4 separate regions of the Homo sapiens genome follow, and regions 2, 3 and 4 are each linked to region 1. Evidence: promoter capture Hi-C in 16 types of primary human blood cells and fetal thymus (Javierre and others, 2016). All regions are on one chromosome and are shown on one strand. Each heading gives the region's core, a stretch centred on a gene start or on the middle of the fragment in contact. The rest is flanking DNA. Distances are from core to core; before and after follow the strand shown. Region 1 holds the start of INTS12 (integrator complex subunit 12). Region 2 overlaps RPL34 (ribosomal protein L34). Region 3 holds the start of CENPE (centromere protein E). Region 4 holds the start of CYP2U1 (cytochrome P450 family 2 subfamily U member 1).

Region 1 (7,421 bases), core at 1,571-4,070:
TTCTCATTAGAATGTAAGTTCCATGAAGGCAGGCAGTGGATTGGTCTTGCCTACTGTTGTAACCCCTGTCTGGCAGAGTTCCTGGAAAACAGCAAATAACTGTAAATGTTGGCCAAGTAAATACTTGTTATCTACTTCCAATTTCATAAAACTTTCTCTTCCCTTGAGTTCTGTTATACTCAACTTTTCTGTTTTTCCTCTTCTATCTCTGACTACTCTTTCTTTGGCTTATCTTCTTTGTTGCTTTTGGTATTGTCCAAGTATTTGTCCTTGGCTATCTTCTTAGTTCTGCTAGCAGTTTCTTCTTGGTAATCTTATACACATCAGGTTTTCAACTATCATCTCTGGGTAGATGATTTAATATGTTTTACCCCAACTTCAATCTCTTTTTTTTTTTTTTTTTTTTTGAGACATGGTCTTGCTCTGTCACCCAGGTTGGAGTGCACTGAGATCATGGCTCACTGCAGCCTCGAACTCCTGGGCTCAAGTGATCCTCCTGCCTCAGCCTCCCAAGCAGCTAGGACTACAGGCATGCACCACCGTAACCATGCCCAGGTAATTTTGTTGTTTTTTAAGTAGAGCCAGGGTCTTGCTATGTTGCTCTTATCTGGTCTCAAACAATCCTCCTGTTGTGGCTTCCCAAAGTGCTGGGATTACAAGTGCGAGCCAAATCTCTTAAATTTGAATCCCATGTTTCCAAATGCTTAGTGTATGTGTCTATGTGATTCCTTAATGGCATCTCAAATTCAGTTACAACTAAAATTGAGATTCTGATTATCTTCCCGAAAAGTTCCTTGTCCTGCTCTTACTTTCAATAAATGACACAACTTTCTTTTAGTCAGGTTTGAGACCAAAGTCTTTCCTTCACTGAGTCTTTCCCTACTCCTTATATTCAAATAATCAGAATTCCTGTGGATTCTGACGGCAATATTTTTCACACTTGTCCTACTTTTCACTTCCACTGCTACTACTGAAATTCAGGTTTTATTAGCTTACTTGAACTATGGCAATAACCTCGTTATTTTCCTTGACTTCAACATTGTTGCCATATGAATTTTCCTGAAACCCAGTTTTCTTCTTTTTCATTAAAATAAAAAAAAAAATTCTTGCTGAGAAGTTAGGGCTTTCTACCACCTTCGAAATAAAGACCAAATTTCTTGGCCTAGCATTTAAGAAGATTCAGTAACTGGCACAAAAATTATCATTCATCATCCCCAGATCTGCCTTATAGCTAGCTGACCCTGCCACTCTTATTTTTTTTGTCCAGGAAGCTCTTTACCTATTTTTATATATCTACATCCTATCAAGACCCTATTCAAATACTTCTCATGAAGATTTGACTGACAGCTGCTGTGCCCCTCTCCATTCCAAACCCTATTAATAGTCTCTCCATTCAAGGATATCTCATAGTGCTTTTTCATGGTATTGCAACTTTCTCCCTTGAAGCATTTTTTTTTTTTTTTGGCACAAGTGTTATGTCCCCTACAAAACTCTGAGTACTTTAAGGGCAGAGTCTATATTTATCTTTTTGCCTATCTCTTTGCCACTTTGCAAAGTACAACAAAATAATGGCTATAGAATTACTGGAATTAAGTGATCAAAGTATAGTGGTCTTATCTCTCCTTCTACACAATTGTAGCCATTTCCAAGGTCCCTTCAGCAAAAATCACAAAAGTAACTCACCCCTGCCCCCACAAAAAAAACTCCAAACATCAAAAAAGCAAAAGCAAAGCAATCACCTCTTTCACGACTGGGGACTTGTAGTACAATGTTCCTATCTGTAAAATTCTCACAATCTTTCGCCTGTCTTGCTTAATTCATTAATCCCACTGGTCTGTAAACTTGATGACAGCAGGAACTTGTTTTGTTCACTGTTATTTCCCTAGTGCTTGAAACTTAATAAGGGCTCAAAAATATTTATCGAATGAACGAACTAGGTTTTTTGCGTAAATGTCACCTTATAAGGCTTCTGTGATCTCTCCAGTCTAAATTGGGCATTCATATATAAATATAAGTATGTGCTTTCTCCTAGATCCATTTTTCACCCTACCTGGCAATCTCAAAAGAAGTCCAAAGTTGATCATATGCACGTGCCCCAGATGAAGGAAACAGAAACTGTTCACATAGAGTGCAGTATTATCGTTGCCATTTCATAATGGCTCTAAAAAACTTTGTTCTTCATGACTTCGCAAGCTCTTGCAACCCCTTCCAATAAACATTATTTTAAAGATGCTGCCTTTTTCATTCCTCCACTGAGTTCTTGGTTCTGGATAACACTGATACCTTAGGGACACCTGGAATCGCAGGAGAAAAGGCTCCGATTCCAAACCAATCAAGTGGCTGAAAGCTGACAGCAAACACTTAGAAAAGGAATGTCAATCCTTTGATCAAAGCATCACACATCGAAGTCCTAGAATGGGGGATGGTCCTTGACAGGGGAGCCAAAAGATGAGAGACAATGAGGGAGCTACGTAGAGAAGTCACTAAAACCCTCCGACAAAGTCCGAGGCAGGATTCCAAGTCCCTTGTCCCTAGACCTAGAAATATGCTCGGTCCGCATGTCCCGGCCCGCAACTCCCTCGGAGGAAGCACAGTCCTCACTGAAAGGGGAGAGCAGTCAGTCTAGGGCACGCAACCGCCCGTAAATTATGATTCCCCTTGAGGAGCGAGGAAACTAATACCCCACGTAGCTACTCTCCCACCTCGCTCCTGGCGCGGGGGTCTCGAGCCTCCAGGAGGCCAGGAGCAGAGTCGCTCAGCATAACTCACCGTTCCGCCCCGCCCTGCCGATCCGTCTGTTCCCGGTGGTCCCTTCGGAAACGGTTCCCGCACTGGCCGGCTCCGAAAGCAGGAAAACAAAGGTTCCCACAGTAGGGGCGGGGGAAACGTTTGGCAGTGCGACAGTAGGAAGTGACGTTACTTCCCTTTTTCCGGTCCGCCGGATTATGAATGACGGCCGGCGCGAGTATTTTCCACATAAGGTGGCTGTCGTTTTTCTCCTGGCGTCTGTGGAGGCGAGTGGTCTGCGGGCAGCAGCTCCCAGAGGCAGCCTTGGAATTCCAGCTCGGACTGGGCGGGAAGGCGCAGGCGGCCCAGGTCGCCGACACGCTCACGCACCCTCCCTGCCTGGCCGCGCCTCTGCGACCAGGTAAAGAGGGCGCTCGGGCCGCCGGCTTCTCAGCCTCCGCGACCCCCTAAGAACTGGTCTTTTCTTCGGGGGTCTGCAGGGCTGAGGATGCGGGGGAAGGGTGGGAAGGACAAGGGCGTGGTATCATCGTCCTGATTTTTCTCCCGCCCTGGGGCCGCCTCAAACTCCTTTTTGGCCACTCCTGCTGAAGGTGCGGGTTGAGGGCTCTGGGCTTCTCGGTAGTACGCGTTTCCCAGTTTCCCCCTAGCCAGTCCCTCATGTCTTCCTCTGCTGATGGAGAAATGGGGCAGCTTCCAGTTGGAGGCGTTGGTTGGGGTGGTTTGATATTTGCTGTTAAGTGTTACTTCAAGACCTCTTGGGTCACACTAACTTCTCTTCTCTCTTTGGCATTGAGTTTTCCATTCCAGCCCTTCCTGATTGCAGAAAGCAGTTCTATGTGAATACTACTTAACATTTACTCCAAAGGACTTGCTTCATTTGGGGCCATTTGCTTATGTTTTGTCATCACAGCAGTATCTCTTGGGTTTTTAACTTCTATAGAAAGTTTAATTTGCATGAAAGTTGCTTTGGTTTCAAAAACGTTTGCTAATACACGTACTTCCCATCCCAACTTTCTACCTGGTTTTGGGATGAGATGACTTGTTTTTTTCCCCTTTATTCTTAATGCCAGGATCCCATTCCTTGTCATAAATTCTTGAATATCAAGAAAATGCCAGCTTTAGTAATATATTGTGTGCTACATTATTGATAAAGAAGGTGGTGTATTTCTATTTTACCTAAGCTTATCTGTAAAAACAATGTTTACAGGAGAAAATGCAAAAGCTAGCAAGAACTAGTGATGTGATAATTTTAAACATGTAAACATAGTCATTTAAATCCATGATAATAAACTGTTATAACACAACTAAGTGATTCGCTGTCATATTTAATAAACATTAAGCTATGCGGGTTTTTTTTTCTTTTTTTTTAACTGCCTGATGGGGAGCATACACCACTGAGAGGATTGCTTTAAGCACACTCATTACTAAAAATTGTGTTTGTATTACACCTGAAAGTATCGTTTTGTGAGGTCTCACTTCAAAAATAAGACTGAAAAGGTCAATGAGATTTGAGAATCATCATTTCTTTTTATTTTATATACTTTGCACTTCTACGTGTTTTTGCTTTAATTTAAACACAGCTCAAACTTGAGCTTCTGTAGTAGTGGGCCCATCAATTTTTTTTTTTTTTTTTTTTTTTGAGCTGGAGTCCTGCTCTGTCGCCTGGGGATGGATTGCAATGGCAACATCCGCCTCCCGGGCTCAAGCAATTCTCCTGCCTCAGCCTCCCGAGTAGTTGGGATTACAGGCGCCCACAATCACACTCGGCTCCTTTTTTTTTTTTTTTTTTTTCAGTCGAGGAGGGGTTTCACCATGTTGGCCAGGCTGGTCTCAAACTCCTGACCTCAAATGATCCGCCCGCCTCGGCTTCCCAAAGTGGTGGGATTACAGGCGTGAGCCACCGCGCCCGGCCTGTTTTTGTTTTTTTAAACTTGTTTTACTTGTAGCTTTTGTTTCATCATCTGTGATTTTTAAATAAAAATAAATACTGAGTATCCAATTAGCTTTTCTAACAAAGAATAAATACTTGGAATGCAGATATTGAAACCATTTAGATTAAAACAAGCACAGGTATTGTTTGCTGTGAAAATTCAGTAATTTTATTTCATACTTGGTAACATGTTAGCCATTTGCGCTGTCGATCACTGTTAATTATGAGGTCGGGTTTAGCTGAAGGCATTATGACTCCATGGCAACAGATGATTCCCTGATTCTCCAGAGAGATTACACACTTCGTTTGTGGCTAAGGTTACTGTAAGCTTTTCACTTAAAAACTTTTCCTACTTCTTTACCAGATAAGAAAACAGCTAATTTTAATCACTGGCTTTTGTTCTCTAGGACTTAACTGCATCCCATATTACGTATTTAATGAGCTTGAAAAAATCTCAGTGTTTTTCTTATCGTTTTTGACCCTAAATATTTAAGGTAATTGGCTGCTATCTATCTGTTGAGGGGCATGTTTTTTTGTTTTGTTTTGTTTTGGTTAAATCTATATTATTGTAATAAAATAGGGTACAATTTTCAGCCAAATACTGTTGTTTTATGAAAAGCATAAAACACAAGATAAGTTATAAAATTCAAAATGTTGAACATATGATGTAGGAGAGAATTTAGGCAGGTTTAAATTTTAATCTTTAAGAAAAGTAAGTGTTTGTGATTTTTCATACTTATAAACTGTGTTGAACTTCTTATTTTGTACAATAGGTTGATATGCACATGGATTAAGGGTTTCACGTTTATATTTTACCATTTCATGATTCCCTGGCTTTCAGCCTCAGTAACAAATATGTTTTTTTTCAGTATTTGGTTGGGAAAAACTTTTCAATCAATATAAATCCTTTACCTTTCATGGAAAGAAGCTTGAAAATATAAACCATAATTTGGGTTTTGCCCATCAAGGTTTGCATATTTTAATAGTGCCAGTTGATAAGGAATTTGGTTATAAATTATAAAGAAATAATAGTAGCTAGTATTTATTTAAGGACTTAATATGTGACAAGCTTTTTTCTGTATGGCACACTACATGGTAGGTACAGTTATTATTGTCTCCATTTTATTATATAAGTGAGGAAACAGATATGCAGAAAAGTTTTTTATAGCTACTAAGAATCAGAACCAGTATATTTGCACCCAGGTGGTCTGGCTCAACAGTCTCGGCTCTAATCTATTACTTTATAATTCTTGTTTTATAAATATTCTTGCTAGGCACATGTATGGAATCTAGTTAAGATTCTTAGTTCCTTTGCCCTGGATATAAGTATACATAAAAACTTCTGTGCTTGCTTTATTTATGAGTTTGGTTAGATTCCATTTATACTTTTCCCGATTCACCTCACAAAGGTGATCTTATTTCTTCATTTTAATTTATACTTAGTTGGTCCTTAAAATAGAGTTATTAATTTGGAAAAGAAAGAATGGTGTCATGAAGAATGAGATACACATTGTACCAAGACTAAAGTTATTAATAATACTCTCAGACAGTGATTTCTGACATTCATATATGTACATTCATTCCTTGAACTAAAGTTTCAGTTCATTAAGCACTGGAGATGTTATAGTGTTAGGTGATAAGAGCTATGAAGAAAAAGGGAAGCTAGGTAAGAGGCTAGGGTGTGCTTTTTCAATTCAGGCAGTCAGGAGAGGCTGTTCTGAGTTAATATTTATGCAGAAAAATCAATGAAATGAGGGAGCAAGCCCTGTGAATCTCTTGGAGAAAAGCATTCTAGGCAAAGCAATAGCAAGTACAAATATTCTCAAGTGGCACCTTCCAAAAACAGCAAGGACAGCTATGGCTGGAAGGGAGTGAAGAAGGATAAGAGATGAGGTCAGAAAGGGATAGCTAGGGTCACAGTAGGCCTATAGGCCATAATAGGAAATTTGGATTTTATTTTGAGTGTGCTGAAGAGCCATTGGATGGTTTTGAGCACGAGACATCTGATTTATGTTTTTAAGGATCACCCTGTTGTTGGAGAATGGACTGTTTTATGGAAAGTGGAGGAAAATAGTTAATAGGCTTTTGCAGTAGTCCTTGTAAGCACTGGCGATGACTTAGATTAAGGTGGTAGTGGTAGAGGTGCTGAGGAGTTGGATTTAGCATATACTTCAAAGGTAGAGATGGCAGGGTATGAGAGAGAGAAAAAAAGAAGTTGAGTGGGACTTTTGAGTTTTTGGCCTAAGCATCTGGGTAATTGGTGTTGCCATTTTACCAGGAAGTAGAACACGAAGGGAAGGGGAGCAGGTTTAGAAAAACATCCACATGGAGATGTCAAGTAGAATATAGTAGTCTGGAGTTAGAGGAGAAGATACGGCTGGGATATACATGTAAGAGTCAGATCATATTTAAAGCTATGGCACTGGAGATCACCCAGAACAGTGCTGTCATATTGTGAGTTGTGCCCCATTAATGAGTCAGGAAATCAATGTAATGAGTAACAACCAGCATTTAAAAAAACAAGCACAGAGTAAAAAATATCAGATTTATCCCATATTGTAGGATAAGTATTGCTTCATGACATTTTTGTTTCTATTTTATTCAGTGTATTGTGTGTTACATTATAAAATATATACCTAATTGTGTGGCATGCTCAAAAGTTTGAAAGCCAGTATTCGAAGGATGGAGTGTGGATTGAGCAGAGAGCAAAACACTGAGCTGTGGGTCACTGAGACATCTGCAG
Region 2 (7,421 bases), core at 3,150-5,649, 2.9 Mb after region 1:
TTGGGAGTTTGAGACCAGGCTGACCAACATGGAGAAACACCGTCTCTACTAAAAATACAAAAAGGTAGCTGGGCGTGGTGGCGCATGCCTGTGATCCCAGCTACTCAGAGACTGAGGCAGGAGAATTGCTGGAAGCTGGGAGGCAGAGGTTGTGGTGAGCTGCGATTGCGCTATTGCACTCCAGCCTGGGCAACAGGAGCGAAACTCTGTCTCAAAAAAAAAAGGGAAAGAAAGAAAAGCCAGATTATGAGGGGCTTTACAGAATAAAAGGTAGATTAGCTTAATTCTTTTATTGATTGATTGATTTTGAGATGGAGTCTCGCTCTGTAGCCCAGGCTGGAGTCCAGTGGTGTGATCTTGGCTCACTGTAACCTCCGCCTCCCGGGTTCAAGCAATTCTTCTGCCTCAGCCTCCTGAATAGCTGGGACTGCAGGCACATGCCACCACACTTGACTGATTTTTTGTATTTTTAGTAGAGACAAGGTTTCACTGTGTTAGCCAGGATGGTCTCTATCTGACCTCATGATCTGTCAGCCTCGACCTCCCAAAGTGCTGGGAATACAGGTATAAGCCACCGCACCCAGTCCTAGCTGAGTTTTTAAACCAAACCTTTTGACACCAAATGCAGGCTTCATTCTGCATTTTAGGAGGTAGATTGTAAGAGAACAGTAGGAGATACTACATTAATACAAATAGGGGATAAATATAGCTTCTGTGATACACAGCAAAGCTTAACTATGATTGAAGTTTAAAGGAGAAATTACTTGCAAATAACTAGGAATGGCATTTGAGTTGGAACCTAAATGATGGGCAAATTTTGGACAAAAGGCAGAAAGGGCATTCCAGGCAAGGAAAGTACGGACTGATCTGGCACATTGTGGGTGAGAAATGGAAGTGTACATTGGAGATAAGTCATGAGTTTTAAGCTGAAGAAGTTTGGCTTTTTTTCCCCCAGTCTTTGGTTCTAAAACTTTGCTGAACACAAAATCAGATGGGCACATTTATTAAAAATACAAATTCTCGGGCCTTATCTCCTGAAGATTTGAATTTAGGTTTACAGGATAGCCTAGAAATTAGCATTGTTAGCTGTGATGCTGAGCAGGTCTGCATGTGGTCTGTGCTTTGAGTAAGTTAAGGGAATTTTTAAGTGATTCAGTTGTATGTGTCTCTGATAGGATCACATGGGGGAGATTTGAAGAAATTAGAAAACCCAGAGTTTTGAGGGTAGGGTTTGATAACCAGGTTTACCAATGGGAAATGGGGTGGGGGAAGGTTTAAGTTGAAGCAAGAGGAGTGCTTTAAACTCTGGTGGTAACTCTGATTTAACAAATGCTAGGAAGACCTGCTTTTTGCTAGGTCCTGTGCAACACTGTAATGATAGTGATCCATAAAATGCACTCCTAGATGGAGGCTCAAAGTCTAGAAAATCTTTCCAAATTTAATCCTCATAAACTCCCTGTTAAATACGTGTGAAACTATTTTGTGCCTTAATATAGAGAAGGTAACTTGTCCAGTGTGCAGCTAGTGTGTGGTGGAGTTGGCCGTAAACAGGTTCTAAAATCCTTGCTCTTGGTGAGGTGTCTCTTGCTAATATCCCTTTACCTTTTAATTTTAGTTCTTAACACATAGCCCCTTATGTGTTGTTTTTTACTGGGAATTTTCAAAAATATGGTTAAAATATTCTAAGACATTTTGCAAATCAAGAAATACCACTATTCCTGGATCCTAACAATAAATTAGAGCTCTCATAAGTGGTCTCCTGTGGGGATGACTTCATAGTTTATCTTGACTCAGAAGGAGGACAGATAACTACTGGCATGAAATTGAAGGATTATCCTGCTTTAAATGAATTTCACCTTTTAAGTTTTACTCTGTATTTGTGTATCCTGTAGTTTCCTGGGTTCCCTGATTGCTTTGCTTGGTTCTTTACCATGTTTGCCTTCTCTGTGCTAAATAAAAAATGAAGTTCATTTTAAAGAAATGATTAATTTGGTATTTTCCTTTCTAGGATCAAGCGTGCTTTCCTTATCGAGGAGCAGAAAATCGTTGTGAAAGTGTTGAAGGCACAAGCACAGAGTCAGAAAGCTAAATAAAAAAATGAAACTTTTTTGAGTAATAAAAATGAAAAGACGCTGTATGTATGACTTTTTTTTTTTCTGTTGTAATGTGTTAGTATACAGATTTTGTTTCTGTATGGTATTTGGGGACCCTATAGTTTTTAGCAGATTACTTTTTCTTGTTTTGTTTGTTGTTTGTTTGTTTTTGGTTTGGTTTGGTTTTTTTGAGACGGAGTTTCTCTCTTGTTGCCTAGGCTGGAGTACAATGGCAGGATCTCGGCTCACCGCACCCTCTGCCTTCCAGGTTCAAGTGATTCTCCTGCCTCAGCCTCCCAAGTAGCTGGGATTATAGGCATGTGCCACCATGCCTGGCTAATTTTGTATATTTTAGTAGAGACGAGGTTTCTCCATGTTGGTCAGGCTGGTCTCAAACTCCCGACCTCAGGTGATCTGCCCACCTCGGCCTCCCAAAGTGCTGGTGTTAAGGTGCGAGCCGCAGCACCCAGCCAGTGGGTTACTTTTTCTGAAGAAACAGTTGGTGGTCACTGATGGCCAGAATTTTTTTGGTGACAGCTCTACCGCTGCATTGGAGCATAATGTCCTTCTCTTTGTGGGCTGAGACTTCAGGGTGGTTTGGGAGGAATGGCCCTTCTATTTGAAACTTTAATATCCCTTTGATCCTTACTATGGTATCTCCTTTACGTCAGCAAGTTTCATAGGATAGAAACCTTGGTATTCTAGTTCCTTGGAATGGAACCTTTTTAAGATTGTTTTTAAACCCTCTGTTCTTTTAGGTCACTTCAGTTCAAAAATGGTATCTTGGAGAGCTCAGAACTCCTTATTTAACAAATGAGTGAGCTACTATATATAAAACCTTGGGTCAAGGGTATAGTTTCTGATCTACATTGGATTTATTATCCAGGCCAGAATGTTAAAATACAGACCTCATTTTTCTTGGGAACTATGTAGTGTTTCTGCCAGCTCAGACAAGGTTTCACTCCTGCTGCCCAGCCTGGAGTGCAATCTTGGCTTGCTGCAACCTCCACCTCCTGGACTCAAGTGATTCTCTGCCTCAGCCTCCCAAGTAGCTGGGACTACAGGTAGGCACCACCATGCCTGGCTCATTTTTGGTTTTTTGAGAAACAGTTTCACCATGTTCCTAGGCTGGTCTCAAAACTCCTGGGCTCAAGCAGTCTGCCTGCCTCAGCCTCCCAGCGTGCCAGGATTACAGGCATGAGCCATTCTTCTGCCCAACCTGTTGGCTGACAACCTTTTTTTTTTTTTTTTTTTTTGAAATGGAGCCTTGCTCTTGCCCAGGCTGGAGCGTACTGGCTCGATTTCGGCTCACTGCAACCTCCACCTCCTGGGTTCAAGCAATTCTGCCTCAGCCTCCTGAGGATTACAGGCGCCCACCACCACACCCGGCTAATTTTTGTATTTTTAGTAGAGATGGGGTTTTGCCATATTGGCCAGGTTCATCTTGAACTCTTGATCTCAAGTGATCCGCCCACCTTGGCCTCCCAAAGTGCTGAGATTACAGGCGTGAGCCCTTGCACCCGGCCAACACCATCTCTTAAAGCCATAACAAGCTTTATTCCAATCTGAGTAGAGAGCAGAGACCTTGAGCCATCATGGAATGCAGAAGCTGAAAGTACCTGGGGAGTTCAGTAAATTTTGACTATTTTCCTCAGTTGAGGAAAATTTACCTACTAACTGGCATGATGTAACTACTTAAGCAGAGGAGAGTTACCGCTTAGCTATACATAAGAACATGCTTTTCTGGCTGGACGCCGTGGTTCATGCCTGTAATCCCAGTACTTTGGGAGGCCAAGGCGGGCGGATCATGAGGTCAGGAGATCGAGACCATCCTGTCTAGCACGGTGAAACCCCGTCTGTACTAAAAATACAAAAAACTAGCTGGGCGTGGTGGTATGCGTCTGTAATCCCAGTTACTCGGGAGGCTGAGGCAAGAGGATTGCTTGAACCCGGGAGGCAGAGGTTGCAGTAAGCCAAGATCGCGCCACTGTACTCTCGCCTGTGCGACAGAGCGAGACTCGGTCTCCAAAAAAAAAACACCTTTTCTTAGGCCAGACCCAGTGGCTCACCCCTATAGTCCCAGTCTCAACACTTGGGATGCTGAGGCAGGAGGATCACTTGAGGACAGGAGTTGGAGACCACCCTGGGCAGCTTGGCAAGACCCTGCCTAAAAAATAATTAAAAAATAAGAATACCCCTTAAGGTAAAAGGCAAAAAAAATGGGATTTCATAACACCTTTACTGTACCCCACTGCCAGTTAACTTGTTCTTGGTATAAAAAATTTTTAATTAGTGTTTTGCAGAAGAGGAGTCACAGAACTAGTAAGTGGCAAAGCTGGCAGTTGAACTCCCTTTTAAGAATTTAACCGCCAGGCGCGGTGGCTCACGCCTGTAATCCCAGCACTTTGGGAGGCTGAGGCAGGTGGATCACCGGAGGTCAGGAGTTCGAGACCAGCCTGACCAGTATGGTGAAACCCCGTCTCTACTAAAAATAACAAAAATTAGCCAGAAGTGGTGGCATGCACCTGTAATCCCAGCTATCAGGAGAATGAGGCAGAAGAATCGCTTGAACCTGTGAGGCAGAGGTTGCACTGAGCCGAGATTGCACCACTGCACTCCAGCCTGAGTGACAGTGAGACTCCTCAAAAAAAAAAAAAAAATTTAATTTTAACCACAGTACACTTGATTGGCTGTGTGCCTGACTCCACCAAATTTGTTTTAGTCCTCCCAGCAACTCCAACAGCTTTATTCCCATTTTACTGATGAGAGAACAGACACAGGTTATAGAAAACCCAGAGCCATTTGTATTGTTGGTAGGATTTTTGCAGCTGTGTTAGTGAATAAGTGTAATGACCGGGCACCCTAATAAATGCTAGCATAATCAATGATAGCTGGGATCCCTGTTGTCAACATTCATAGTCTCAAACGATTGAGATACATTAGCTTTCTCCAAACACCTGCCAATCCCAAAGATTGTTAAGCAACCAGGATAATAGAATTAATTATCTTGTATAATGTTTAATCACAGTATTGAAAATATAAAACGGGGATAGAATTGAAAAGCTTGAATTCTAAGGCAGATTTACATCACTTTCTCATGATTCAGGCTTATATATACTGCACCAAGCAGTTCTGTGACTGTGTTTTATTGTATTTGATATAACCATCTAAAAATTGGCACTTTTAATAATATACTCAGACAATAATGTGGCTTAAAACTTAAACTAATTGGCTGCTCTGTAGGCCAGTCTAGTTTTTGAAAGGTTTGAGATGTAATTTCTGAAAAAATTGCTGTGGAAGAGAAAGCCTATTTGCCACCCCAACCTGAGTTCTTGCTGGTGGAAGGAGGCTCCTCCCTCTCCTTGCTGCTCCAAGTTAGGTAGAACAACATGACTGGACACAGGCTCTAGCTGGTGGGAACTAGCAAGTTTCAGCAAAATATGAAATGGGTGACCTTTGAGAAATGTAAGGAAGTTAAAGAATTGAGGTGTACATTCTTTTCCAAGAATTCTTGGTATGTTAAATGGTTTTACTTAACAAACAGCTTTGTAGACTATTTGGAAAGTTTGGAAAAATAGAATGATAAAAAATCTCAATTTCACTACTTACTATTATTATTATTATTTTGGAGACAGAGTCTCACTCTATCACCCAGGCTGGAGTGCAGTGACGCGATCTCAGCTTACTGCAACCTCCACCTCCTGGGTTTAAGCCATTCTGCCTCAGCCTCCCGAGTAGCTGGGATTACAGGCGCCTGCCACCACATCTGGCTAATTTTTGTATTTTTAGTAGAGACGGGTTCGCCATGTTGGCCAGGCTGGTCTCGAACTCCTGACCTCAGAATGTCCGCCCGCCTCGGCCTGCTAAAGTGTTGGGATGACAGGCTTGAGCCACCACGCTGGGCCACTACTCAGTCATTTTTAATAGTTGAATGTTTTTCCTCCCATCTTGTTTTCCATGAATAAAATAGACATTTTAAGTCAAAACTGGAAGCCCACTGCATATATAAACTTTTAACTCCTTTTTTTCTCCCACATAACCCCTGTGATATTTCTTTTCAAAGAATATTTTAGTAGCTGCCTGCAGTATGAAATTTACATGCTATAATTTAGACATTCCCTTTATTTTGAACATTTGGGCTATTTCCAGTTTTTCTCTATTTTAAAACATGAGCCTTCTTATATATCTGATTATTTCACTTATGCTGAATTGTTTTTTAATATTCACAAGTTGGTGTTGAAGTTCAGTATTTAGAAGACAAAGAGCATTGACGGGTGTGAACATAGTAACGACTCTGTCCAAGTGACCCAAATGGATTCTATAACTCTTCTGGGTTTTGATTTTTGTAAAAAACAAAATGAAGCTCTTATTGAATCCAGTTCTATGTGTGTGACAAAGTATTCTTGACAGGTTCCTAAAAAGACATGTGAATGTAGTCAGTGGTTTTCTTTTTAAAGTCTAATATTTCTCCTTCCGTTGAATTGCTTATAAATTCTGTTAGAAGGTTGAAAGGGTTCTTTTACCCTTAAAAATATAAAATCTCCAAATGTTTAAGTAAGCAAATCAAGTTTGTTTTAGCAACTTAATAACATCCTATAATCTTTACCCCAGTGATTAAGAGCTTGGGCTTCCAGAATTTTGATAGTCAGGGCTATGTCCAACTTTCACTGTAAACTATGCATCTTATCAAACCAACTAAAATCACATATAATCCTCACAGAGTAAGATTGTGAAGCAGTTCTGAATGTTATGATTTTTCCCTAAAGTATATTATTTATTGCCGGTAATAATTATTCTGCCATTATTAGGTCCAATAGAAAAAGTTGGTGTGCTGGAGCTACCTCACCTCAGCTTGAGAGAGCCAGTTGTGTGCATCTCTTTCCAGTTTTGCATCCAGTGACGTCTGCTTGGCATCTTGAGATTGTTATGGTGAGAGTATTTACACCTCAGCAAATGCTGCAAAATCCTGTTTTCCCCCAGAGAGCTGGAGGTTAAATACTACCAGCACATCCCTAGATACTACTCAAGTTACAGTATATGATCACTAATATAGTATGCTCTTGGTACCAGGAGCTCTGATATATATCTGGTACATGTTTGATAATGACTTGATTGTTATTATAAGTACTTATTAATACTTCGATTCTGTAAAGAGTTTAGGGTTTGATTTTATAAAATCCAAAATGAGCCTTTTATTGAATCCAGTTCTCTATGTGACCAGTTCTCTGTATGAATGGAAGGGAAAAGAATTAAAAATCTTGCAAAGGGGAAAGTTCCATCTTCTTAAAAACTAGATGTGGTAAACAACTATTCTAAACCAGGAGTAGA
Region 3 (7,421 bases), core at 1,558-4,057, 2.5 Mb before region 1:
CGGTTGCCTATTCTGGCTTTCTGCTTCCCTTCTTTTTTTACCTACATCCACTTTCTACTGTTCCTTTATAATCACTGATAGTTAAATGGTTAGGTGGAGCTAACCATTCTGATAACATTTTCTTGTTCCTTAATGCCTACTTTTTGTTGAGAGTATTATTGTTGCAGAATTCAAGAGAAAGAATAAAAGAACTTTAAGCTTTATAAAGTAAGTTGTGGAGATAAAAGTGAATCTATGCTATGCCTTTCTTCTTTCCCCATGGATAATCAAACAATAACTGTAAATCTACTTCCTTTCATCTTTACAAGAGAAATACACTAAGACTGGTACCCAGTTTTTACTAGTTTTACCTGTACGTACTAGAAATCCAGTTAAGTTACTTACCTTCTTAATTTTTTGGAAAATGTCATGAATTGCCCTGGGTATAACTCCCAAATGATCTTCTGAACCCATCATGGTATATGTTTTTCCTGAAGCAGTCTGTCCATAGGCAAATATAGTACCTGCAAAAAACAAAACACACATACGCAAAGATTAAAAACAAACCTATAATGGGTAAAACTATGCATGCTTGTTGCACAGACGCCCAAGACTAAAATGTTTCTGCAGCATTGAGTGAATACAAACCATTGTAGCCTTGTATGGCAGAATCGATGATTGGTGCTGCTATTTCTTCATACACATTTTTGGTAGTTTCATTACCATGAAAGACACGATCTAAACAACAACAACAACAACAACAACACAGAAGTTAAATCAAATGAGTCCACTGTGTTTTCATTCCAAATTAGTAATTATTCCCAAAAGTAAAACTGTCAGAATGTAGGATGATCAACTATTTAAGACACAGTATTTTTTTCAACTTTTTGGTTCTCTGAAAATACCCTTCCCTAAGGTAAAATGAGTTCATTTTCACACACAAAAAATACACTACAAGTCAACTTTTCTATGTTCTTTCAAGAGGCAATAAGGTATAGTGTTTGCACATGGGGGTCTGGAATCTACCTAGATGCAAATTAGATAACTGTGATTATAACTGTTTTAAATGCCAATTGGTTACCTTACTTAAATACATGATGGATAAACAATTTTGTTTCCAGTGAAGCAGTTTATAGAAGGCTTAGTCTAATCTTTAGTGACAAATCTAATATTATTGATAAGCCTTTTGTACTTTTAATAGCAAAAGGATAACAAGGTAACTTTTGATGCTATTATAAGCTTACCAAAATTGAAGGATTTACTTCCATCAACTTGATAAATGACATTATTGTCAGTTTTCCAGTAAACTTGGGCAGTTTCTCCAAGTGATTCTTCTCTAAAAGAATAAAAACACCGCATTTTAACCAGTCATAAAAGTCATGTCATAGGAGGAATAATTGAAAAGATTTCACCTGCTAAAGAATATTTTGAAAGATAGTAACATAAGAGAATGACAGAAAGTCCATCTTTGAGGATTCAACTCTTAAATGGAGCTTCAGTGACCTTCTGCCGCCTCAAAAGTGTTTTCTTGTGAAGGCTTTCATTCTCACCCTCTCCCCCAGTACTGGTAAACAAAGGGATGGATTCAAAATGCAACTCTGATTATGTCTGTCTTGCTTAAAATTCTTAAAACCTTTTGGAAACTTATGAAATCCTCAGCAGGGCACGAGTCCTAGATCATGTCATTTCTCTCTTCCATTTTCCTCTGAATTCCTAGATACATCCTAAGCTCTACCTGAAGGTCTTCCCCAAATGACAGATGTAACCTCTCTGTGCCTGGAATACTCTGACTTCCCTTTCCATTAAGTAACATAGGGATTATTTCACTCATGAAAAGCGTCAAGACTTTTCTGACACCAGTTCACCCCACGGGAAGCTTTCGTCTCTGATGGGCTAATAACTCCTCTAGCAAACATTCTCTACCTGCCCATCATAACACTTGTCAAAAGGTATCCTAATGGTTTCTTTATGTAGCCGTTTAAGGCATTAGATAATGAGCTCCTCAAAAATAGGAAATTCCTGATCTTGGTATTTGCATTTATTAAACCCCGTGTTCAATAAAAATTTCTCACACACACAAAGTGTTAGCATTTCGGGTCGAGGGCCAGAAGCTAGTGAAGCAAACCGATTTCATTTATTCCTCTTCCTGCTTTTTCTCCCTAGCACTTATTACCTACATATCACCACTTAACATCCTACATTTTCAACTTTACTTTCTGTCTCGTCCCATTAGAATGGAAGAGCCACTGGGCAATGACGGGAGTGTCTGTGTTGTACAAAGTCACTAAAAAAAAATTGATAAATATTTGTAGAATGATCTTGAGTGACGATTGAATGTAATGTGACAAGACAGACTAGCCCTTGTCTTCAGAGGGTCTGGAGACAGCAGTTAGGTGTAAAATGACTAACTGTGATGAGGGCCAGGAAGGCACGGTCCCATACGACTTCTCTAGGCGGGGAATGGGGCAGGGAGGAGCAGATGCCGCAAGGCAGAGCAGCACAGAAGGGAAGGTCTGTATGTCAGCGAGACTGAGTTAAATTTAAGTGAATCTCGCAGCTGGAAAGTATCTTCTAGATCTCCGATCCTCCCCTGTCACTTTACAGACCCTGAAACGATGGCCAGCAGCCGAGTCACTAGACAGCAGAGCCGGGAAGCAGCGGCTCCTGGAAACATCGTAGGCCTCGCCCCTCCGGCTCAGGGCGGCGCCGCAGGCCCAGCGGGCACCGGGCCGTGGTGTGGCCCCCCTACCTGCTGTTCAGCGGCCGCACTCGCACGCAGACGGCCACGGCTCCTTCCTCCGCCATCCTATCAGGCTGAACTGGTCCCAGGAAAATGGCCAGGACCCTCCGCGGCCGGCACTTCAGGGCTCACAGGCCGCCCCGCCTTTAAATTTAAAATTTCCCAAACGCCGCATCTGATTGAGCCGTGGCCTCGTGACGTCATGGGCCATTCCACGTGCGGAGCAGCGCGGGGGACGCAAGGCGGGCGGCGTGACCACTGCTAAACAGGAGAGGGGATTTAAAGGGCCCAGCAGAGAGTCGGAGGAGAGGGCCGAAGGGAGGGGCTCCCAGGAGTGGGCAGAGAGTGGTGGTCCTGGAATACCAGAATACTATTATCTGCCAAAAGCTAGCGAACGTCATCCTCCACCCCATCCTTAAAAAGTTTGGAACCTGTAGACGAAACTAGGTAGAGATACATGTATTTTTCACTACCCAAACAGAATTGCCGTCTTTTAAAGAAACTGCACCAACAGTTTAAAATAAACTTTCAACAGCAAGAGTTGAAATTCGCTGTCCAGTCCAGAAACGTGACAAGCCTGTTGTGCGCCTTAGAAAATCTGAGTTTAGGCTTTTCTCCTGTTTCTCTCTCTCTGTAACTCGTTTCCATTAGCTGTGGCTTCCTCAGAGGTTGAATTAGGGAAAATAAATACCGAGGACTGAAAAACTCATTGAGTAATGGGTTGATACTTTTTTTTTCTTCTTTTTTTTGGAAACGGAGTCTCGCTCTGTCACCCCAGGCTGGAGTGCAGTGGTGCTTATCTCTGCTCATTGCAGCCTCCACCTCCTGCATTCAAGTGATTCTCCTGCCTCAGCCTCCCCAGTAGCTGGGATTACAAGGTGCCCGCCACCACGCCCAGGTAATTTTTGTATTTTTAGTAGAGACGGGGCTTCGCCATGTTGGCAAGGCTGGTCTCAAAGTCCTGACCTCAGGTGATCCACTTGCCTCGGTCTCCAAAAGTGCTGGGATTAAAGGCGTGAGCCACCGCTCCTGGCCTGGTTTGTTACTTTTATTAACTAAGAGGGAAAGCTATTCTAAATACAGTGATTTTTTCCCAAAAATAATGCTTATTTTCCCTTTCTTCTCTCTCTCTCTTTTTTTTTTTTTTTTTTTTTTAAATAAACATGAGTTCTTGCTTTGTCACCTAGGCTAGAGTGCAGTAGGCTGAACACAGCTCACTGCAGGCTCAACTCCTGGCCTCAGCCCAAGTGGGGTTCCCACCTTAACCTCCTGAGTAGCTTGGATTACAGGCACATCACAAGCCCAGATAATTTTTAAATTTTTTTGTAGAGACGGGGTGGTGGGGGGATTAGGGTAGGGAGTGGGGTCTCACAGTGTTGCCTAGGCAGGTCTTGAACTCCTAGGCTCAAGCAATCCTCCTTGCCTTGGCCTCCCAAAGTGCTGGGATTACAAGCATGAGCCATCGTGCCTGGCCTAGCTTTTTATGTGTACTTTAGAAAGCTATCCAAGATGTTTCATTTATTAAGAGAAATTCAAGGTGCACGGTTATGTACACAGAATATGTCTGGATATACATACATAATTTTTGGAAAGATACACAGAATATGCCTAATTTCCTTGCAGAGTGAGGACTGAGTTAGATGGTAGACTGAGTTAGATGAAAGTAGTTTCTTTCAATTTAAAGAAACTAGTTTATAGATAAGAACAGTAAAGAAAAATGAGTCTATTCATTCAAGATTTGTTTTGGTTAACTAGCTGTGAGGTAGTATAAACAACTCTTTTTTATTGCTAGACTGTAAAGATACTTGGTTGTATCTAGTAAGAAAATACAGAGTTAAGGAAGGTATATTTTAACTGTTGTTTTTGTTTTAATTGTGGGCAAATATGAGACAGCTGAAGGCAAGGAACCTATGAAGAAGAAGGGAGATGTGATTAATCAAAATTTCTAATGAGACAAGAGGAGATTGGTTCACGAGTAAAGAGAAGTCATCAGCCTTTCATAGTTGTGCTTATGATCGTTGCTATGACTGTCTTTTTTTATCATCACAGCAGGTGACATTTATTGAAGATTTACTATATGCCAGGCTCTCTATTATATGCTCTCTATCCAATTTTTTCATCTGACTTTCCAAATTGTTCATCAAGAAATATTCATTGAACAACTGTTATGTGCCAGATACGGTTCTAAGGTCAGGAAGCACAACAGTAAATAGAATAGACACAGTACCTGTTGTTGTAGAGTTGCTATTCTCTTAGAGGAGATGGGTAATACAGAAAAATCTCAGTCTCTCTCTCTCTCTCTCTACACACACACACACACACACACACACACACACACACACACACACATAATGTAATGATTAATAGGATCAGGAGACAGAGAGAGAGTGATAAGGTGGGTTAAGAGTGCTAGTTTCTTATGAAACACATTCTTGTGGGAAGCAGCAGACAATACATAACAAATATATAGTAAAATAATGTGTTGGGAGGAAGGTTTATTTTAGATGAGATGTTCAAGAAAGACCTGAGGAGGTGACCTTTGAAGTGAAACCTATGTGAGAAGAGTGAGCCAGACTTGGGAGGACAAGAGAAAGGGCGTACCAGACAGAGGAACAAGTAAGTCAAAGAAGCCAAGGCTTGATCGAGTTTGTCATCTGTCTGAGACACAAAGGGGAGGGCCCTGTGACTGAAGCATTTGTGGCAATGGAGAGAGGTAGGCAGGTCCAGGTCCAGGACCCATGGGGCCTTGTGGGCTGTGATAAAATGTTTGGATCTTATTCTCAAGGGTGAGGGGAAGCCTATGGAGGGTTTTAAGCAAGGGGGTAAAAAGGGATTCATTAATTCCTTCAAACAAGACACTCTTTATTTCACTATGAAAATAGAAGCTTCCAGAAAAGACTTTGCCCTAATTCCTGTCAATCTGGCTACTCACTATGTGCATTTGTGCTTGCATACTCGCCTTCCAGACTGTAACTTTATAAACATCTGTGTGTTTTCCACTCTGGAAACTCTCCATGTGTGCACTGGATACAGTCCTCTCCTTCTCACTCTCTGTCCTGCTTGTCATTTTCTCCTGCTCTAGAAAACCAGTCTTAACAGCAAACATATGCCTTAATTCCTCCCATATTGAGTGTCTAATATATATGGCAAACTTAAAATGTCTAATACCAAATTCATGCTCTTCCCCTCAAAATCTGCTCAATCAGCAGTTTTCTGCTTCTCAGTTGTTGGCAAGTCCATCCTTCCAGTTATCCAGGTGCAGACTCTGGAGCCATGCTGCTCAGCTTCTCACCTGAAAATTCTGTCAGGGCCACCTTGAGAAAATTTCAGACTATGAAAAGTTTGTCACAACTTACGCTTCAGCTACCTGGTCCGAAATATCATCATCTGGCACTGAGCTAATCTCAGTGTTTCCACCCTTGCCCACCCCCACTGCCAGTCTGTTCTCAACACAGCAATTTGAATGATTCTGTGAAAATGTGTCAGATCATGTCACTCCTCTCTCAAGACCCCCAGTGCCACACCTTCACCCCCACCCTCTGATTTCTCTCAGAACAAAACCCAACGTCTTTCAGTTGTCTCCCAAGCCTCACATGATCTTGCCCTTTGTTTGTGCTCTGGCCTTACCTCCTACCACTGTCCCTCCCCTTTGCTCTCCCCACTCCAGCCACACGGGCCATGGGCAGTTTCCTGAATCCCAGACAAACCCCCTCTTGAGACCTTTGCACTGGCTGCTGTGTCTGGATGGAAGGCTTTCACTCCAGATATACATGTTTCCCTCCTTCCCATTGATTCCAGTGTTTACTCAAATGTCACCCTCTCATAGCTCTCTCTCTATAAAACACCAACTCCATTGTATGTTACTTCTATTTCTTAAATCTTCTTCTTAAATTAGTTACAAGATTATTTGTAACTTTTAGACATAATATGTGTATGAGTATTAATTTATGTATATATGTCTCCTCCCACTAGAGTGACATAGTTTTTGTTTACTCCTTGTCCCCTGTGTGTACAAAGATGCTTGGCATAGAGTAAACGTTCAATTAAAAATTACTTATTACTTAAGTATTACTCAAATACTTATTGGCATAATTTCTGGAAAGATACACAGAATACACCTAGCTTTCTTTGGAGGGAAAGGACTGAGTTGGAAAACAGATTCACCTTTCATTTTATATTATTTCATAACAATATTTTAACCACATGAATATTAGTTTCTCTCAAGTTAAAGAAATTAGTTGACATAAATCAGTGTGTAAAATGGAGTCTACTCATTCAGATTTGTTTTGGTTATCTAGCTCTGAGCTCATAGAGATTATCCTTTTTCATGACTAAATTGTGAAGAGGCAGGGCTGCTTCTAATAAGATAATCCAGAGTATTGTGGTGTATACATACTATGGAATACTACTCAGCCATGAAAAGGAATGAAATAATGGGATTCACAGCAACCTGGATGGAATTGGAGACCATTATTCTAAGTGAAGTAACTCAGAAATGGAAAACCAAACGTCATATGTTCTCACTTATAAGTGAGAGCTAAGCTATGAGGACTCAAAGGCATAAGAATGATACAATGAACTTTGGGGACTTGGGGGAAAGGGTGGGAGGGGGTGAGAGATGAAAGTCTACACATTGGGTACAGTGTACACTGCTTGGTTGATGGCTGCACCAAAATCTCAGAAATAACCACTAAAGAACTTA
Region 4 (7,421 bases), core at 2,873-5,372, 2.2 Mb after region 1:
ACTAAAGTGACTAACTGTTCCTGTGGGTACCCACCTCACAATAGATTCATCTCATAAATTAAACCTGCTAAGTCTTCTTACTTCACCATGTCTTTTTCGCCAAGATACTGGCTTTTTTAAAAAAATTGTTTTACTGAGGTATAATTTACCTATAGTGAAATGCACAGTTAAGTTTTGACAAGTGCATACATCCAAGTAACCAACACTTCAGTCAAGATATAGAACATTTCTACCACCCTAGAAAAAATTTTCAATTTCCCTTTCCAAACAATCCACCCTGTTCTAATGTCTATCACCATAGGTTCACTTTGTTTGTTCCAGACTTCATATAAATGCAGCTATTTAGTATGTATTCTTGTGCCTGGCTTTTTCACTTGGCATGTTTTTTGATATTTATCCACACTGTAGAGTGTGTCATAACTGATTGATTTTTATTGTGGTGTAGTGAGCTATCAAATAAGTATACCATAGTTTCCCCTTCCCCTGCCCCCCTCTTTTGTTGAAGGACATCTGGATTGTGTTCATTTTGGTGTTAAATAAAAAATGTGTCCTAATCCTGGCACCACCTTGACCAAATAAAGGGATGTTTTCGGAATTGGATTTTGTGACTTTTGAGATTCTGCCTTACACTGTTTTAGATTTTTTTCAGGGGCCTTTCTCCCGTCATCTCTTCTCCAAGTAAATCATACATAATACATGCAAGTGGAGAGGAATGAAGTAATACTGAAGATAGGCACGTTTATTTATTCATTATACAAGACATAAAGGCTAAATATAGGAAACAATATCCTGGCAAGTCTCACATTCTAATATTGGAAAAAGCTGGTAAATCTGCAAGGTGTGAATAAGAGGCAGCAATAGTGACAACCTATTAAGTTTAAACTATTATCAAGAACCCAGTGATAACTATTATAATTACAGCTTTTATGTATTGAGTACTAGTTGCTAGACATTGTGCTATTATTTAATTATTATTATTTAATTATTTTATTTAATCCCTATGCTTGGTATAGGTATATTTATCATCCCAATTTCAGTTCAGGAACATGGAGGCTCAGAGAGTACATAAACACATATATAGAAGACACTCAACGGAATATATATGAAGCAAATCATAAGAACTTAAAGGGAACAAAGGTGTTAATTTTTAAATGGCCAGTGGAGTTGTGCAACTAAATAGTGCTAATAACATTTCTACTTTCTCTTTTCATTAGCATTTTGCAAACCCTTCTTAAGCCATGCACTCTCTCTGTTCATGCTCATTGATTCTGGATGGGTGTCGTGTGTGGTGGCATTTACCTCCCAGAGAATTACAAACCAACTGAACAATTGTAGTTTTACAAATAGAGTAATTTAATACCACTCTTTATAACAAAATAAGTACTCAGCTATTTTGGATATACTGTGACCAACAATTCCGGCCAAAATCCATGTCGAACAAGGATATAGGTAGGAAAGTGGGTGGTTTAAAATTATCTTTAGGGTCTCAATAAAAATGATTTTTTCCCATAATCCTCTATCTTTCTTACCACTTCTGCCCACCCAAAAGATCTCTTAGTATTCTCTTCCTTTACTGCTTCTGCTATTATTTTTTTACCTATATAAAATAAGAGAGATGAAGCAGAAAGTATTCCTTTATGTGGCAAAATCGCCCTGAATGTAATTTGGGGAAATTCATCCTTAAGGAGCACTGAATGAGCTGTGTGGTTTCATGTTTAAAATAGTGCATCCAGCTGGGCATGGTGGCTCTCGTCTGTAATCCCAGCACTTTGGGAGACTGAAGCAGGCAGATTACCTGAGGTCAGAAGTCCTAGACCAGCCTGGCCAACAGGGTGAAACCCTGTCTCTACTACAAATACAAAATTTGCCGGGCGTGGTGGTGCGGGCCTGTAATCCCAGCTACTGGGAGGCTGAGACAGGAGAATCGCATGAACCTGGGAGGCGGAGGTTGCAGTGAGCCGAGATCACACCACTGCATTCCAGCATGGGCGAAAGAGCGAGATTCCATCGCAAAAAATAATAATAATAAAATAAAAGTGTATCCATAATATTATGAACAATATCCCTTCCTGTATTCGTTTGCTAGGGCAGCCATAACAAAGTACTACAGACTGGATGTTTTAAACAACAGAAATTTATATTTATATCCTCACCGTTCTGGAGACTAGAAGTCAAAACTCAAGGTGTCAGCAGGGTTGATTTCTTCTGAGACCTCTCTCCTGACTTGTAGATGGCTGCCTTCTGACTGTGTCCTCACATCCTCTTTCCTCTCTGTGTCCTTATCTCCTCTTCAGACACCAGTCATATTGGTAAGAGCCCATCCACAGGACTCCATTTTAGCTTAATTACCTCTTTAAAGGCCCTTTCTCCAAATACAGTCTTATTCTGAGGCACTGGGGGTTAGGACTTCAACATATAGTGGTGAGGAGAGGCTGAATTCAGCCCAGATTTCCTATCTGCCCCGCACAGCTATTAACCTAGTGAAAATGAGAGATTTAGGAAAACACTACACGTGCAGTTACATCCTGTACAATATAAAAGGGTGGCTGTTGGAGTTGTTAAATTAGTCACAGCTTCAACTATTTTAAAATCATTTATGAATTTAAATTGCTTGTATGGGATGATGTATATAGTGGCTACTGTTTCAGAGAGCAAAGCCCTAGAATCAGATGACATCCAGAATGTCATGTTGAAGATCGTATCTGCAAACAAGTAGTTTAAATTTTTAAAAACTTCTCTTAATTCAAAAATTCAAAAAAAATGAGAAAAGTAATCTCACAAGTAGTGGTTAATTATAGAAGATGAGAGGTGTGGAGGTTTTTTTTTTTTGTTTGGGGTGCATAAGCTTAAAATAACATGAAAAGCATGTCAAAAAGAATATGAGAACAGAGTGGACTTGAAATTTAACATATCCTACTGGCATCACTTGTTTATAGAAAAATAAAATGGATCATGTATTTATTTGAGGACTCACTATGCTTTCTTTGATCACATTTTTATAGGTACAGCGTGGTGTTCAAACTTTTAATGTATGGAGAAAAATGAAACGGCTAGAAAAATGGCCCAGTACAGACAATTCTATGCTCAATCCAACTTGAACAGAAACTACAGGATTTGGCCTAAACAAGACTGAAAGGGAAGCCCTTATCAGGAAAGCCATTATCTGAGAAGATAAAATAAAGTAATACTTTGTTTTTAAAGTATTATACAATTCATATCTAATATTTCAACCTCAGCCTTTCAAGTGTTGTCTAACACCAATAATAATATTGCCACCCCTCCCTCAACCGGTTATCTTCTTTTCATATTTCTAGCTACTTAAATCCACCAAGCAAATTCTGGTTTCGCTATTTCTGGATTTAAGTACATTTTCTAATGCACCCAGGCCACACGCAGGAATGGACACAGCTTTCGCTCTCCGCATAAGTTTTCTAGCCCAGGGCAAGCTCTCAGAACGTGACTCCTCGTGCCTCGCTGCCCGCCCCTCGCTCCCCCCACTCCCGCCATCATCCCTTCCGCAGAGTTGGCTGCCAAGCCGACACCCACAGATTCTGCATTCCACGGCTTCCCAGCATCCTGCTGTCTCTGCGTGGAGGAAAGGGTGCTGCGAATCCCAGTTTAGATAAGGAACCCCGTCTTTTCACTACTACACCGAAGCATGCAGGAATAGGGCGTTGACCCCATTCTCCCAGCTCAGGGCACAGGTGCTAAGGCCGACCCATCTCACGGGCCTGTTCACCAGTTTCCCACACTCAGTACAGATCCTAACACGGTTTATGCACTTCATAACCATGCGTTTGTGTTTGTCAACTGACAAACGAGTGATAATGACAAACGAATGACACAAGGGAAACCAACAGCCAATCAGAGCGCAAGGTTGTGTTGCCAGCATCCCAGTTTCAGGGACAGTCACCGCCAAGCCCGACCCTGCAAAGGGTCGTAACCGGACTTCGGGGCAAACTTCAGGTCCCCCGCCTGCTAGCCCGCCAACCCCCTCCGCCAGGCAGCCGGCGCGCCTCCAGGTTCCGCCCAGGCGTCGCTGAGTGGCGGCGGCGGGGAGAATGCGCGCGGCGCAGCCAATCCGGGGGCGTTCCTACACCCCCTGCCCGCCCCCGACCTTCCAGAGCAGAGCAGGACACTGGCGCCGCGGGTCAGGCAGCTGCGTGCGCGTCTCCTCCAGGCAGCAAGGGGAACCCGAGGCCGCCGGCGCCCGGACCATGTCGTCTCCGGGGCCGTCGCAGCCGCCGGCCGAGGACCCGCCCTGGCCCGCGCGCCTCCTGCGTGCGCCTCTGGGGCTGCTGCGGCTGGACCCCAGCGGGGGCGCGCTGCTGCTATGCGGCCTCGTAGCGCTGCTGGGCTGGAGCTGGCTGCGGAGGCGCCGGGCGCGGGGCATCCCGCCCGGGCCCACGCCCTGGCCTCTGGTGGGCAACTTCGGTCACGTGCTGCTGCCTCCCTTCCTCCGGCGGCGGAGCTGGCTGAGCAGCAGGACCAGGGCCGCAGGGATTGATCCCTCGGTCATAGGCCCGCAGGTGCTCCTGGCTCACCTAGCCCGCGTGTACGGCAGCATCTTCAGCTTCTTTATCGGCCACTACCTGGTGGTGGTCCTCAGCGACTTCCACAGCGTGCGCGAGGCGCTGGTGCAGCAGGCCGAGGTCTTCAGCGACCGCCCGCGGGTGCCGCTCATCTCCATCGTGACCAAGGAGAAGGGTGAGCGGGAGGTCGTGGGCTGTGGGTACGCGGATGCCGCGGATGAGTCTCCAGGTGCGTGGGGGCTGCAGTTCCTGTGCCCCTTCCGGCCGCCCGCGCCCCCAGGCTGCCTCACACCTGCATCCTGAACTAACAGGTGATGGTGGTGGCGGCGCTTCTCCTTTCTGATGCCTTTAAGATCCCATCAAGTAGTGACGGACGCGTGACTTGCTCATACTCCAAGATCATAAGTAGAAAAGTCATCCGGAGATTGAGGGAGAGTAATAGGGATGGCGGAAGGACAAGGTGGCAAGCCAGGTTCCATCTTTCCAAAAGTAGCCTTCCCTTCCACCAGCTGTGACCTCGGAGAGAAACTTTGGCCCCCATGTTAGAAAGAGGGAAGGATATTCTTTTTACCTTGTGGGTTTCGAATGTAAGAATTTAAGAAGATAATTTCCAATAAGATAAAAAGTCCAGAAAACACAGAAGAAGCCTATTACCAAATCTCCGGCTTTGGTTCATAGCCTCTGATTCCTGCGTATGGGAGTCTAAATTGGACATTTTTGGGGGTTGGAAAACGTGTTATCTGCTGCAATAAAATGTCCAATCTAACCTGTCTCTACCGTCCCCCTTTGTCTTACTGGCTGGCTTAGGTCTCTGACTTCTTTTCTGAGTCACTCCTACGCATCAGTCAGGTGTTAAATGCCTTTTCCTTGGGGAAGCCTTTTCTCACAGCCTCTGCAAGTAGGGTAGCCTCCCTTGTTAGAACCAGGTCCCTTGCCCAAGCACTTTTCCTTCACTACACTTTTCAAAACTGACGCTACATAACTTTATGACCTTGGGCCTGGATGTCAGTCTTCACCACTGTTCTGACATCTAGGAGGACAGAGTCATTGCTGTCTGAAACATAGTAGGAGTTCAAGTATCTATTAAATGAATGCTATTTCCTGCCCCTATAACATGGCAAAGAAAGATCTAGGCTTTTCAGAATCTGATAAAGCCAGAGTTTTGCATCAGGATTTTAAACGGAAAAGACAAATATTGTATGATCCACTTATATGAGGTGCCTCCTAGCGTAGTGAAATTCATAGGGACAGAAAGTCTCAGTTTTGCAAGATGAAAAAAGTTCTATGGATGGATGGTAGCAATGGTTGCACAACAGTGTGACAGTACCTAATGCCATTAAGGTGTGCACTTAAAAATGGTTAAGATGGTAAATTTTATATGTATTTCACCACAATTTTTAAAAAAGAAAAGAAAAGCAGGTAGGTTTTCTCCAGGCACCCATGAGCTCAGAAGAGAATTTTAGGTAGAAGCAGTATTACGAAGGCATGTAGTGGATGAGGTGTGAACTGTGACATTTGTTTTTCAGTGGGGCATTTAAAGTATTATGATCTTTATCCCTACTCATTTAAAATCCTTAGATAATGTCTTAGTGTTCATCCATGTTGTGGCATATGTGAAAATTTTCTTTTGAAGACTAATATTCCATCATATGTACAATCATCCCTCCTTATCTGTAGGGGATTCCTTCCAGGACCTCCTGCGAATAACAAAACCCTAGGATGCTCAAGTCCCTGATATAAAATGGTGTAGTATTTGCATATAGCCTATGCATATCCTCTTGGATACTTTAAATCATCTCTAGATTATTTATAATACCTACTACAATGTAAATGCTTTGTAAATAGTTGTTATACAGTATTGTTTAAGGAATGACAAGAAAAAAAGTCTACACATTCAGTACAGATGTGTTTTTTTGATCTGCGGTTGGTGGAACCAACAGATGTGGAACCCATAAATGTGGAGGGTCGACTGTATATACCACATTTTGTTTACCCATTCATCCATTGATAGACACTTGTGCCTCCAACTTTGGGCTATTGTGAATAATGCTGCTATAAATAGAAGGGGGCAAATATCTGAGTCCCTAGGAGTTACTTGATCATGTGGTAATTCTAGGTTTAATTTTTTGAAGAACCATCATACTATTTTACAGTGAGTGCACCAGTTTACATTCCCACAGGGGTCCCAATTTCTCCACGTCCTCACCAACACTTCTTTTTTTTTTTTTTTTCACACTTGCTTTTAAGATTGGGCTTAAATGTTACCTCTTTGAGAATGTGTACCCTGAGATGCTTCCCTACCCTGCAGAAGGAGATGAACTTCTATGATACCATTGTTTCATTTTAAGACCTTCCCAGTCCCTTCTAATCAATCCATAAGTCTTACTGACTCCTACAGCAGATATGTGTGCTACATCCATCTACTTTTCTCCATCTCTACTGTCAGCATCCTCATCCAAGCTACCATCATTTATTTATTTTTCTTTTTTTTCTAAAGCTACCATCATTTCTAAGCTGATACTTTAGAAGCCTCTTAACCGACCTGCTTGCTTCCGCTCCAGATTTTCATCCACAGAGCAGCCAAAAGTATCTCTTACATAAACCATGAATCAAATCTTGTAGCTCTCTGGCTGAAACCAATTGCCTCTGCACTCCTTACTTGACCTACTATGGCCTGAAGGATCTGGCTGCTGCCTTTCTCTTTTTTAGCTCTGCCTTCACTTGTACATTTCAACCTGACCTTCCTACTCTAGACACACTAAGCTGATTTCTGCCATGCCTGGGCCTGCCTCAAGGTACGATGTTTGTCTTCTTTGGGCCTGGAATAACTTCTTACTTGACTGATTGCTTGTCATCCCTCAGGCCTCTCAGGCCAATTGTTACCTTTCA

The links. The method cuts DNA at HindIII sites, captures the fragments that hold promoters and counts their contacts. A CHiCAGO score of 5 or more calls a contact.
Region 2: a fragment that was not itself captured here is called in contact with the fragment with the promoter of INTS12 in region 1 in 1 of 17 cell types (monocytes); the score reaches 5.8 in monocytes.
Region 3: a contact is called between the fragment with the promoter of CENPE here and the fragment with the promoter of INTS12 in region 1, in 1 of 17 cell types (naive CD8 T cells). The highest score is 5.4, in naive CD8 T cells.
Region 4: a contact is called between the fragment with the promoter of CYP2U1 here and the fragment with the promoter of INTS12 in region 1, in 1 of 17 cell types (total B cells). The highest score is 7.9, in total B cells.

Annotation. Positions count from the first base shown.
Region 1 is chr4:105,705,869-105,713,289 of GRCh38, forward strand. INTS12 (integrator complex subunit 12) reads right to left here and starts at 2,821. Exons shown (of 8, transcript NM_020395.4): 1 at 2,770-2,821. It overlaps GSTCD (glutathione S-transferase C-terminal domain containing), which reads left to right and starts at 2,916. Exons shown (of 12, transcript NM_001370181.1): 1 at 2,916-3,148. LOC124900747 (a long non-coding RNA gene) reads left to right here and starts at 514. Exons shown (of 2, transcript XR_007058214.1): 1 at 514-555; 2 at 2,033-2,228. It overlaps LOC124900748 (a long non-coding RNA gene), which reads left to right. Exons shown (of 3, transcript XR_007058215.1): 3 at 11-106. RefSeq lists an enhancer at 2,896-3,145. The HindIII fragment of the contact is 4,662 bases long and covers 1-3,927 here.
Region 2 is chr4:108,623,120-108,630,540 of GRCh38, forward strand. It overlaps RPL34 (ribosomal protein L34), which reads left to right. Exons shown (of 5, transcript NM_001319236.2): 5 at 2,009-2,251. The coding sequence ends at 2,093. Among named protein-coding and RNA genes, the nearest start is that of RPL34, 6.3 kb to the left of the region's middle. The HindIII fragment of the contact is 1,510 bases long and covers 3,645-5,154 here.
Region 3 is chr4:103,195,536-103,202,956 of GRCh38, forward strand. CENPE (centromere protein E) reads right to left here and starts at 2,808. Exons shown (of 49, transcript NM_001813.3): 1 at 2,729-2,808; 2 at 1,224-1,315; 3 at 628-717; 4 at 385-503. The coding sequence starts at 2,784. RefSeq lists an enhancer at 2,670-3,224. The HindIII fragment of the contact is 3,749 bases long and covers 1,854-5,602 here.
Region 4 is chr4:107,927,427-107,934,847 of GRCh38, forward strand. CYP2U1 (cytochrome P450 family 2 subfamily U member 1) reads left to right here and starts at 4,123. Exons shown (of 5, transcript NM_183075.3): 1 at 4,123-4,707. The coding sequence starts at 4,218. CYP2U1-AS1 (CYP2U1 and SGMS2 antisense RNA 1) reads right to left here and starts at 4,693. Exons shown (of 7, transcript NR_125929.1): 1 at 4,545-4,693. All of the region lies in intron 1 of LOC107986298 (a long non-coding RNA gene), which reads right to left. It overlaps LOC124900751 (a long non-coding RNA gene), which reads right to left and starts at 4,159. Exons shown (of 2, transcript XR_007058221.1): 1 at 3,547-4,159; 2 at 719-2,477. RefSeq lists enhancers at 3,493-4,000, 4,661-4,730, 4,791-4,860 and a silencer at 3,861-4,450. The HindIII fragment of the contact is 6,450 bases long and covers 2,844-7,421 here.